2 separate regions of the Homo sapiens genome follow, and region 2 is linked to region 1. Evidence: promoter capture Hi-C in human tissues and cell types (Jung and others, 2019). All regions are on one chromosome and are shown on one strand. The core of a region is centred on a gene start or on the middle of the fragment in contact, and the rest is flanking DNA. Distances in the headings are between cores, read along the strand shown. Region 1 holds the start of CD300LB (CD300 molecule like family member b). Region 2 has its middle 3.3 kb from the start of CD300H.

Region 1 (6,087 bases), core at 1,876-4,375:
TTTTAACCAGTAAGACCACGCCAGGCTCTGGTCTTCAGAAGCATCAATGAGATGATGAAATTGTGCAGTTCTAAGCCATAGAGTTCATGTTAATTTGTTACAGCAGCCACTGGAAATTCACATGGCATTCAATCAGCAGAACCAACTTGATTCTCTTCAAACCAGCAGCTCCACCACCCAGCCTTCAGGAAGAGCTTGGCATCTTCTTTCATGCTGTCCTCTCCTTCAGCCCCCGAGCTGATTGGTAGCCAGTTTAGTCAGCTCTATCCTAGAGATGCTCCTCAGTTTTTTTTTTTCTTCTTTCAGTCTCTGCCATCGCAGGCCACAAGGACAGCATGACATCAGAGAGAGTGTGAGCTTTGATGCAGAAAGACTTGACACTGAACTAGTTGGGAAACCCTGGCAGAGTTGCTTAACCTCTGCAAGTATCGCTTCCTTATTCATAAGACAGTCATGCTACGCTCTACTTTGAAGGTGGTAATAGGACTTGGATGTGTGTAGGCTGGGCAAGGTGGCTCATGCCTGTAATTCCAAAGCTGTGGGAGGCTGAGGCAGGAGGATCGCTTGAGCCCAGGAGTTCCAGACTAACCTGGGCAACATGGTGAAACCCTGTGTCTGCAAATGCAAAAGATTAGCCAGGAGTGGTGGTGCATGCCTGTGGTCCCCACTGCTTGGGGGGCTGAGGTGGGAGGATCGCCTGAGCCTGAGAGTTCAAGGCTGCAGTGAGTTATAATCGCCCACCACTGCACTTCAGCCTGGGTGACAGAGTGAGACACTGTCTTCAAAAAATTATTTATTTTTAAATTTAAAAGAAGACTTGGATGTATGTCCAACGCCAGACATTTGGGGTTTGCTCTGTCAGTGACAGCTCATCAACAGGTCAGAACTTCATCTGTGCCTGGATCATGGCAGTGGCATCTGGAGAGGTCTTCCCAGCCCCAGCAGCATCCTCCCCAACTCTCCTCTCCTGAGGATTATGGCCTTCATAATCTTGTCTTTTGTGTTTCCAACCTCATATCCAACTCGCCACCCCCAAGATGTCCTGCACACTGACAGCTCCCTCAGCTTTCCTCTCCATACTGCTGCCTGAGTTGGGTACTGAGACTGTCTCCTCCTCCTCATCAGCTGCACTTGCCCTGAGCATCTAAAAGTCTTTTCGGGGCCGGGCACGGTGGCTCATGCCTGTATTCCCGCACTTTGGGAGGCCAAGGTGGGTGGATCACCTGAGGTCAGGAGTTCAAGACCAACCTCACCAACATGGTGAAATCCTGTCTCTACTAAAATTACAAAAATTAGCCAGGCATGGTGGCAGGCACCTTAATCCCAGCTTCTTGGGAGACTGAGGCAGAAGAATCACTCGAACCTGGGAGGCGGAGGTTGCAGTGAGCCAAGGTTGCACCACTGCACTCCAACCTGGGTGACAGAGTGAAACTCCGTCTCAAAAACAAAAAACAAAAACAAAAACAAAATACCCAAAAACATAAATTGGATTTGTCAGCAATCACTAACAGCAGAAAAGAGATGCTGCTGCATTGAACAAAGTGTCATCAATCCCAGCTTCAGTCATTCAAACTGTAAATGGCTCACGATGTAATTAGTCCCGTTTAAAAAAATATTTGGGGGTTTCTCTAACCACAGAATATGATGGCTGGAACTATTAATCAGGCTTCTATATGTTGTCAAGAGTTGGTATGAGGAACGATAGAGATGGAAATGACAGGGCAGCCGTCAGCTTGGAGCAGAGCCCCGTTGAACGGGCTGAAGGGTGGAAGTCCAGCCAGGACTGGAGTCGGGTCTCAGAACTCCCCAGCCATGCTCTTTCCTGTTGTCCCTCCGTGGACTGCTCTATCTGTGCCAGATGGTCAGTCCCTAGGCACCAGCAGAAAACTGTGTGGCCCACACACATTGCACACCCTGCGTAAAATTCTAGATTGTCCCCTAATGCCCTCTAGGTGTCCACCAAGGTTTGCCATGGAGAAGATCATCTAGCCCTTCCCACTTTCCACCTGGGTTCTTGAGAAGTTTTTTCTTTGAAAGTCTCAGCTCCTGAGCCTGGCGTGGATGGCCTTCATAATCTTGTCTTTTGTGTTTCCAACCTCATATCCAACTCGCCACCTCCAAGACATCCTGCACACTGACAGCTCCCTCTGCATGAATCCACCATTCTTTCTAAGCCTCCATCTCTCTGCCCAGGTCCCCCAACACACACACACACACACACACACACACACACACACACACACCCAACTCTCTAGAGTGTTCTCCTCTCAGCTCTGCTCCAGAGACTGACCTTCCTTCTACAAGGCACATCAAGTGCACAGCTTCGTGAGTCTTTCTCTAGTCACCAGAGAGAACTGCTTCATCCTCCGCACACGCCTCCACCAATGCCTTATTGTGTCCTGCAATTGCTCATTGTTTATGTGTATGTCTCACCCACTAAGCCATCTGGAGTCTTTTTACTTTATTTTTTTTTTGAGACAAGGTCCCACTGTATCACCCAGGCTGGAGTGCTGTGGTGCGATCATAACTCTGCAGAATTGAATACCTGAGCTCAAAGGATCCTCCAGCTTCAGCCTCCCAAGTAGCTGGGACTACAGGCACGGTCACCACGCCCAGCTAATTTTTGTTCATTTTATATAGAGACGAGGTCTCACCATGTTGCCCAAACTGGTCTTAAACGCCTGGACTCAAGCAATCCTCCCACCTTGGCCTCCCAAAGTGTTAGGATTATAGGTGTGAGCCATGGCCTCAAGCCTGGAGTCTTCTTTAATGGCCAGTTCTCCTCCTCTTTTTTCTTGATGTCCTCAGGCCCCGAAGCACACGATGTCAGTCCCCAGTGCACCTTTGTCGAATGACTTCACAAAGCCACCTCTCATTTCCCTGGATGTGGAAGGACAAATGCCCTCTGCCTCCTGCCCTGCCCCTGTCATACCAAGCGCCCAAGGCCCCAGCCCCACTCACCTGAGAGGCTGAGAAGGAGCAGAGCAGGGGGCAGCCACATGGCTCTGCCTTCCCGGCTCCTCGTCCGCCTGATCTGCAACCAGTGGCAAATGCAGATCCCAGATGCACTCTGGAAGTTCTGCCTGAGCTCTGGCTTGCACCTTCTGCACATCTAGACCGCCTTTGACTTTCTTACTCATTCACTTCCTTTTATAGAGTGGGTAGTTCCTGCTTTTAATTATTAAACGAAAGAGGTGTCATTTTTTGGCAGGGCTGCGCCACAGGGCTTAAGCATCGTCACTATGTAAAAAAGAGGAGGGAGGGGACTGTGCAGGGTCTTTAGGGTAGGGGGAGATACGTCTGCAGAAGGGGTGGGGTGGGGGGCGTCTGGCCTAGCAGGCCTTGGGTCCAAGGGGTATAACACTCTGGGAGTCAATTTCAGAGCTGTTCTATACCACAGTGAACACCCAACTCAGATGTCGGATGGGTCATGCTGGGCACACCTGAACATGCATTTGTTCAGGTGTTATAGCCAAGTGCATAAACATGCAGACTGTTGGGTCAGACAGACCTGGCTCTAACCCCACGAGCACCACCTACAAGCTGCGTGACTGTGGACAATGCAATCAACATCTCTGTGCCTCAGTTATTGTATCTATTAACTGGGCTCATAATGTTTGTTGTTGTTATAGGAGTTATTAAGAAATTATTTTAGGTAGATAGGAAAAGGGGTGCTTGGGAAGATTTTTTTTTCTTTTAAAGCAGCTCCATAAATGTTTCTTGTCTAGAAGAAAAGCCCTGGCTCTTAGAGCTGGGCAGGCAAGCTTTGATATGCAAATACAGGCCATTAGAAACTGCGTCCACCCAAACATGGAGACTCCCGCCTCTTCTTCTTTTCCCCACGTTCCTGGCAACATGGCCGCCCCTACATACACCCATGTGTGTAGAACATCATGGCGCCTGTATTTGCATATTAAAAGGCTAGGGTAGGAAGGCTAGTTTTTTCGTGGGCTACTTGAATGACATACCTGGTCAAACCAATCCCCTGGGCCCTATGCAAATCAGGTACCGCCTCCTCCAGCCTCCTCATATAACTGGCTGTTTTCCACCGTACTCGAGGTTCCCTCTTTCAGCTTGGAGCCCGCCTCCCTCAGTCTCAGAACAGGGGGAGCCTCTTCCTTCCTTCTTTCTTGTCTATTAAATTCTCCACTCCTTAAAACCACTCCACGTGTGCCCATGTTGTTTTATTCAAACCAGTGGGAGACCAAGGACCCTAGTGTTCCTCCAGTCATCAGAGCCATACCATTTTGTTGCATTGGCCGGGAATCCAAGGTACGACACTCATCGGAGTGGTAAGTATGGGAGTGAGCTTAAAATCTCTTCTATCATTCCGAGGCACTCTTAGCCTCTATTTTAAAATAAAATAAGTCAATGGGCATCCGTCAGCCGGGTACATACACTTAGTGTTGGCTGCCATACTGAAGACTCGAATGTGAGGCTTGCTGCTGAGAACACGGAGAACCCCCCAACACCCCTGGGTCATTGGGAATGTTGGCCATGTTTTAAATCAGCTTCTTTTCACGGGAAGACCTCGCCATTGTGCAAGGCTGGGAAAAGTTCTAAGGCAACTAACAATTTCTGGCCAGAGCACACCCTGGCATGATTCAAAGGCCCCTGGACTGGACCCAGCCTCTGGCGGCCCATTCTGGGTGTTGGCAAAGAATCCTCAACTATCTTGTCACAAAACTCTCCTTCCTTCTCTATCTGCGGTCTCTTACACTTTCTTTGTGTGAAATGTGTAGCGAGTTTTACAGCCTAGGAAAGTAATCCTGTTAGGCAAAATCAGGAAGATGCCCTTGCAATCTTCTAGGAACAGAGTTCTCCCCTTTCTCCCACCGTGAGGTTACTCACTACCACGTCTCTAGTGAGCACATAGTATTTCTAAGCCAACAGTGCCACCTAGTAGAAATAGAAATCCTCTACATAAAGCATATTTTTTCATGGCAAACCGCAGCTTCTTTTTGCATGATTAGAAATCAGGCTCGGCCAGGCGCGGTGGCTCATGCCTGTAATCCCAGCACTTTGGGAGGCCGAGGCGGGCAGATCATGAGGTCGGGAGATCGAGACCATCCTGGCTAACACAGTGAAACCCCGTCTCTACTAAAAATACAAAAAAAAATTAGCCAGGCGTGGTGGCGGGCGCCTGTAGTCCCAGCTACTCGGGAGGCTGAGGCAGGAGAATGGCGTGAACCCGGCAGGCAGAGCTTGCAGTGAGCCGAGATCGCGCCACTGCACTCCAGCCTGGGCAACAGAGCAAGACTCGGTCTCAAAAAAAAGAAAAGAAAAGAAAAGGAAAGAGAGAGAGAGAGAGAAAGAAAGAACAAGAAAAGAAAAAAGAAAAAGAAATCAGGCTCTAGGCCTCTTCTTGAAATGGGAAAGTTCTGCCTTTAGCAGTTAGGAGTTAAGAAGTCTTCCATAGCCAAATTTTAGTCTCAATATTGTCCCATTGGCAGGAAAATGGCCATTCGGTTCCTACATTCCTTTAAGGCACCTATTCTGTCTCCGATTAAGATGGTACTTAATTAGTAAGGGGATTTTTAAGTCCAGAAGTTAACCAGAACCATTTTTCTAAGGGTAAATGCTTTAGCACAGGCCATAATAATAGCAAGATATAAAGTTCAATCTAGCACGCCCCCTCCCTTAAAGAGGCTTTGCCCAATTATGTAGTTTTTCTTTTTTTTTCTTTTCTTTTCTTTCCTTTTTTTTTTTTTTTTTTTTTTTTTTGAGATGGAGTCTTGCTCTTGCCACCCAGGCTGGATTGCAGTGGTATGATCTCAGCTCACTGCAACCTCCACCTCCCGGGTTCAAGTGATTCTCCTGCCTCATCCTCCCAAGTTGCTGGAATTACAGGTGCCCGCTACCATGTGTGGCTAATTTTTGTATTTTTAGTGGAGACAGGGTTTCACCATGTTGGCCAGGCTGGTCTTGAACTCCTGACCTCAGGTGATCCACCCACCTTGCCCTCCCAAAGTGCTAGAATTACAGACATAAGTCACCACACCTGGCCCGTAGTTTTTCTTAAAATCGTTGTTTTTTTGTTTTGTTTTTTAGGGAAGCACACAGGTCACACAGGAGGTCAAAAAGAAA
Region 2 (6,087 bases), core at 1,401-3,900, 39 kb after region 1:
AGGTTTCCAAAATTATTAAGAATTTCAAGATGGTGACAGCCAAGCATGAAACGTGGGACCCTTCTAAGAGCCGGGCCTGCGAGACTGCACAGGGTAGGGGCACACCCACGATGCCCGCTGGTCTATCTCTGATCCTTGGTGGTACAGATAGGCTGGGTGCAACCTCAGAGGCTCTGACCTCTTAACCCCTCACTCTTGCTCTGACCTCAGCAGACCCCAGAGGTCCCTGTCTTGGCCACGTGCCTGACTGTTTCCACAGACCTGGCACCACGCAGAGCTTGGTGGACCATCTATAAGCCTTGCTTTTGACCTGTGTGGCTCTTCCTGTCGCCCAAGATGACCACATATAAGAGTTTCAATATATCAAGAGCTAACTCGGGGGAACCTGGCCAGAAGTGTGCCTGATATACACAGAATGGCTGTGGAGGATTTATAAATGCAAGCACAGCTTCAGAAGGCCTCACTCAGGGACTTAGATTTCTGGAACTAGGAGACTCCAAATTCCTGGCATTCTGTTATCAAATGTCTCCTCCTTGGTGTTTCAGTAAATGTGTTTCCTGCTTGTTCATTTTTTGCTGCATGTGGAGTCCTCATATTTCTGTGTGTGTTCACATGTGTGTATATGGGTGTGGTATGAGGGATATATGTGTAGTGTGTGTGGTGTGGGTAGTGTGTGTAGTATGTGTGGTATGTGTGTATGTAGGTACATGTGATGTATGTGCATGGTGTGTGGGATGGTGTGTGTGTAGTGTGTGTGTATGTGTGGTGTGAGTGGTGTGTGTGAGATGTGTGTAGTGTGTGTGTATGTGTGTGGTGTTTGGGGTCGTGTGTGTGGTGTGAGTGGTGTGTGTGGTGTGGGTGGGATGTGTGTAGTGTGTGTATGTGTGTACATGTGGTGTATGTGTGTGATGTGTGGGGTGGGGTGCATGTAGTGTGTGTGTTTGCATGTGTGTGTGGTGTGTGTGCACAGGTGGTGTGTGTGTAGTGTGTATGTGTGTGCACGTGTGTGGTGTGAGATGTGTGTACATGTGGTGTATATGTACAGTATGTGGGGTAGGGTGTGTGTAATGTGTGTGTGGTGTGTGTGATGTGAGTGGTGTGTATGAGATGAGATGTGTGTAGTGTGTATGTGTGTACGTGTGTGTGGTGTGTTGGGTGGTGTGTGTAGTGTGTATATGTGTGCATGTGTGGGAGTGTATGTGGTGTGTGCGTGTCCATGTGTGGTGTACGTGTGTGGTATGTGGGGTGGTGTGTGGTGTATGTGTGTGGTATGTGGGGTGATGTGTGTAGTGTATGTATGTGTGTGCATGTGTGGGCGTGGAGGGTGTGGGTGGTGTGTGTGTACATGTGGTGTATGTGTGTGGTGTGTGTATGTGTGTGCATGTGTGGGGGGTGTGGGTGGTGTGTGTCTACATGTGGCGTATGTGTGTGGTGTGTGGGGTGGTGTGTGCATGTGTGGGCGTGGGGAGGTGTATGGGTGTGTGTGTGTGTACATGTGGTGTATATGTGTGGTGTGTGGGTTGGTGCGTGCATGTGTGTGGAGGGGAAGCAGGAGCTGGGAGTGATAAAGATGTCTCCCCTTGCAGCCTGCAGAGCCGGTTGCGAGCCCCGCCCTCTGTGCCTAGCTCTGGGCGCTAAGGAAAGGCTTGCCTGGCCCTCCCTGACTCTGCGTCAAGGGCTGCTCAACGTGCCTTTCTTGGGAAGAAGGGATCTGAGTCTGTGAAGGAGATGACGCACAGCTGCAGACTTTTCCAGAAAACATTCTCGCCATCCTTGTCTGGACAAACCACCGGGTGCACAGGGTTGTATTAGTCAGCTCTTTCTGGCTCACATTGCCATAGCAAAACTCCTAATCCCAGCATGCTGTAACCACAGAAGCTTGTTTCTCGCTCGTCTATACGCAAGCGGTGAGTCAGCATTGCTTGGGCACCAGGCTGCGGAGCCCAGTCCGCTAGAGGAGAGGGAAGGCACCGGGTGGCTCTCTGAGCCTCTGCTCAGAAGGCGCACATGCGGCTCCTGCTCACCGTTCATCGTCATAGGGTCAAGCCTGAAGTCAGTGGGAAGGAGAAGCACAGTCCTCTTACAGGACAAGGCGGCAAGTCACTGACCACAACCACAGAACCCACTACTGGAGGTTCCCTAACCGGGCTGGAAGGGTGCCCCGCAGCACACCGACTCCGTGCTTCTCGCTCATCCAAGGTCGGGGCAGGGAGAGGCTGCAGGGTCTGCTTAGAAACAGCCTGTGTGTGTTTCATTTTTTTAGCTAGGACCAGACAGTTTGCCAAATGCAAAGGACATGGCAATGCCACAGGGAACCCACCTTTGAAGCAGATGTACTCTGGGCCCTGGAGTCCCCCAGGAGATGACAAATTCCTTGAAGAGATGACCCACATCTGGGACATCCAGGCTTTTTCCATGTCAAGGCCAGCATCTGGAGCCGCTGTCCCTTCCCCAGCAGGCCCTTGTCCTTCTGTCTCTGAAACCTGTCCTGGAAAATGCTGTCCGCTCCAGGAGGGCAGAGCTAGGGGAGGACTGAGAATAATGAACACTGGCCATGAGGCACAGGAGGGCGGGGAGCCCGGGGCCCTGCCTGGCACTGCACCACACTGAGACCCCCACCATCGCTGCCCTTGAGGGACAGCTCTTGGGGCTTCCAGAAAGTTAAGATCTCATCAGTGAGGGGTGCGTTCTTAGGGCAAACTCGGGGCATGTGATGTGTAGGACAGTGTGAGTAGCCCACACATTTCTCTCTGCCTTTCGGGGCTGTGCTTGTCTTTCTGCTTCCTCGAAAACCGTCATCCTCCCTTCTCACTCTCCCAGGATGAGCTCAGACCACACCTCTCCTGGAAGGCATCCCTGCCTGCTCCAGGCCTTCCAGACCCCTCCCTCTGGGGTTCCTGTTACCTGCAATGCTTATTTCTGTATTTAATCTCATGTCCCTGTGCTGTCATTGTCCTGTTGCATGGCATCCATTTCCAGGTGAGGCTGTAGCCTCCACAAAGGCAGGACCAATCTGGGCACCCGGAGACGCAGACAGAGCTCGGCCCCAGCCTTGTGAGCTGAATTGGAGGGTGAGAGCTCCGATCCTTCCATATTTTCCAGGGGAGGGGATCAGGAATGTATTAAGGCATTGGGCCTCTCTTCTCTCACCTCTACTACCCGACGTCAATCCATTTGGGGAGTAGTTCTCAGTATCTTGTGCATCATGGTGAGAATGGGCAAGTGCCCAAGGATGGTGGACCCCACTGCCCACTTTCTTCCCTCCCCACTGGCACTCAAGGGAGACGTCACCAAGAGGGCAGCCTCCTGACCGGCTCTGGGCAATGGATGCCTCTTTGGGATCTTGTTACAAATACAGGGCTCTCTAGGGAGCAGGGTGTGGGGAGGGTCTTCCCAACATGGGGGCTGGGGTGCTATAGGGAGCCCGGCTCAGAGAGGGTCTCTACCTGACTCTGATGATGTGGGCCATGTAGCACAGTGAGGAAGGTTCTGGCCATAAGCTGGGAGCCCTGGCTCAGATTTTAAGGTCTGCTGTTCACTAGTTATATGACTTTAGGCAAATCAGCAAAAGTCTCTTAGCATCAGTCTCCTCATCTGTGAAATAGGAATAAAAATATTCACCCTGCTCAGTCCCAGGAGTTGAGCAAAGGCATTTGAAGGTGGTGGCATCCCTCTGGGAAACTTTCCTCTTTTGATCTTCTACGTACCATGCACTCTGTATATTTAAATCCTGCATACCCATCCCAACACCCCTGCCAGGTCACTTTTAAATAAGATGACTGGAGCTGGAAAGACGAACTAAACTGTCATGATGGGAAGTGGGGAGGTCAGGATTTGAACCCAGGTCTTCGGTGGGGTCCCACCTCTGGCTCTCATGATGCAAGGTACGGATTGCAACACTCAGGCAGGGGTGAGATGGGTTGAGAGATGGCAAGTGGAAGAGGCCTCCAAGTCTTATTTCATTCAATATCTGTTTGCAGAATAGCAGGAAGTATCTTCAGGGGAAATTAACAACACAACAAAGTCTGCTTCTGGGTGTCTGCTATGGATTGATGAGTTCCCCCAAAAATTCATATGTGGAAGCCCTAACCCGTAATGTGGTGATATTAGGAAATGAGCCTGTGGGAGGTAATTAGGGTTAGATGAGGTCATGAGGATCAGGCCTTCATTGTGGGATTAGTGCCCTTATCAGAAGAAGAAGAGAGATCTCACTTTCTTTCTTAGTCCATTTAGGCTGCTATTTTAAAATACCATAGACTGGGTGGGTTATGAACAACAGAAATGCATTACTCACAGTTGTGGAGGCTGGAAAGTCCAAGATCAAAGTGCTAGCAGATTCAGTGTCTGTTGCGCACTCACCTTCTGGTTCATAAAGAGTACTTTTTTTTGCTGTGTCTTCACATGGTGGAAGGGGCAAGACAGCTCTCTGGGGTCTCTTTTACAAGGGTACTAATCCTGTTCATAAGGGTTACACCCCCACAACTGAATTATCCCCAAGGATCCACCTCCTAATACCAACACACTGGGAATAAGTTTCAACACATGAATTCTGGAGAAACACAAACACTCAGACCATAGCACTCTCTCTGCCATACGAGGATACAGAAAGATGGCAGCCATCTGCAAGTCAAGAAGAGAGTCCTCACCAAACACCAAATCTACCAACATCTTGATCTTGACTTCCCAGCCTTCAGAACTATAATAAATAAAGGTCCCTTGTTTATAAACCACTCGGTTTATGGTATTTTGTTACAGCAGCCTGAGCTGACTGAGACAACGTCCTGGTGTCTGTCCCAATGCTTCACCGTTCTGGCTTTTCAGCATGAGTCACCTGTGCTCCTTCTCCCTGGAGGAGCCCTGTCTGGGGCAAGACCTTTGCAGAAACAGTGAGGCTTCTTGTCACTTTCCTCATTTGGAAATCAGGGATTTGGATGACAACTGGATTCCACCAACTGAGGTGTCTCTGAGGCCATTTGAAAGGCCCAGTTAGACAGAGGTTATCTTCCACAGCTCTTAGCCACTGCTGTTGGCAAACAAGGATTAGAAGAAACAGGAGACTTTCATGAAGCAGAGTTCCAGGATATGTTTTCTAGCTTCCTGGGTGACAAGAAGCAGTGAGGGCAGTGACAACTTCTTCATCTGACTTCCATTAGGAAGATTCCTTGGATTGCAGCTTCATAAAATTATTCTCTAGCTTCCTGGATGTGGAAGGCAGTTGCTTGGCAGATACCAAGACTTCATGCTCCCTGTTTGACCCTAGGGGCCTCAAAAGCAGGCTGTTCTGGATGTGAGGGAGGAGGGAGGGACAAGCTTAGGAGCTGCTTCTTCGGCCCTTTCCACAATATTATAAGCACCTAATTCTCTGCATACCTTCTAGTGCCCACCTAGAATGGGCACTAGACCTGAGTGGATACATACTCTTGGAAGGATCCAATCCCAGCAATAAGGTTGTTATTAACTAAGATAAAGGAAACCCACATTATACAGCTCCTCCTGTCTCTGGGTCAAGGGAGAGCGGGCAGGCAGGAGAGTCATCTTAGAACCGCATGCCATGTGTTCTCATTCCATCCAGCAGGTGACTTGTGCCAGGCACTGCTATCTACACTGGTGAACAAGACTGAGGCCCTGCAGGGTCCTGATGGGTACTAGAGGCTCTGGTTCCAATATGAGGAGGATGAACACTTCAGCACAGTTGTCTTTTTAGTAGACGGACCAGGAAATCAGAGGAGCTCTCTGTTACTCCATAAGGGCTGTGGTTCTCAGTAATAACTAATGGCTGTTGTTCTCAATAATAACTAATGGCTGTGGTTCTCAATAATAACTAATGGCTGTGGTTCTCAGTAATAACTAATGGCTGTGGTTCTCAGTAATAACTAATGGCTGTGGTTCTCAGTAATAACTAATGGCTGTGGTTCTCAGTAATAACTAATGGCTGTGGTTCTCAGTAATAACTAATGGCTGAGGTTCTCAGTAATAACTAATGGCTGTGGTTCTTAGTAATAACTAATGGCTGTGGTTCTCAATAATAACTAATGGTTGTGGTTCTCAGTAATAACTAATGGTTGTGGTTCTCAATAATAACTAATG

What was found. The method cuts DNA at HindIII sites, captures the fragments that hold promoters and counts their contacts. A contact is called where the count stands out against the background at its distance.
Region 2: a fragment that was not itself captured here is called in contact with the fragment with the promoter of CD300LB in region 1 in 4 of the 25 tissues and cell types used here (adrenal gland, psoas muscle, spleen and 1 more).

Annotation. Positions count from the first base shown.
Region 1 is chr17:74,528,350-74,534,436 of GRCh38, forward strand. It overlaps CD300LB (CD300 molecule like family member b), which reads right to left and starts at 3,126. Exons shown (of 4, transcript NM_174892.4): 1 at 2,962-3,126. The coding sequence starts at 3,001. It overlaps LOC107985074 (a long non-coding RNA gene), which reads left to right. Exons shown (of 3, transcript XR_007065902.1): 2 at 4,198-4,292. RefSeq lists an enhancer at 176-245. The HindIII fragment of the contact is 14,743 bases long and covers 1,767-6,087 here.
Region 2 is chr17:74,567,811-74,573,897 of GRCh38, forward strand. No RefSeq gene overlaps it. Among named protein-coding and RNA genes, the nearest start is that of CD300H, 3.3 kb to the left of the region's middle. RefSeq lists enhancers at 1,046-1,776, 1,777-2,506. The HindIII fragment of the contact is 7,027 bases long and covers 1-6,087 here.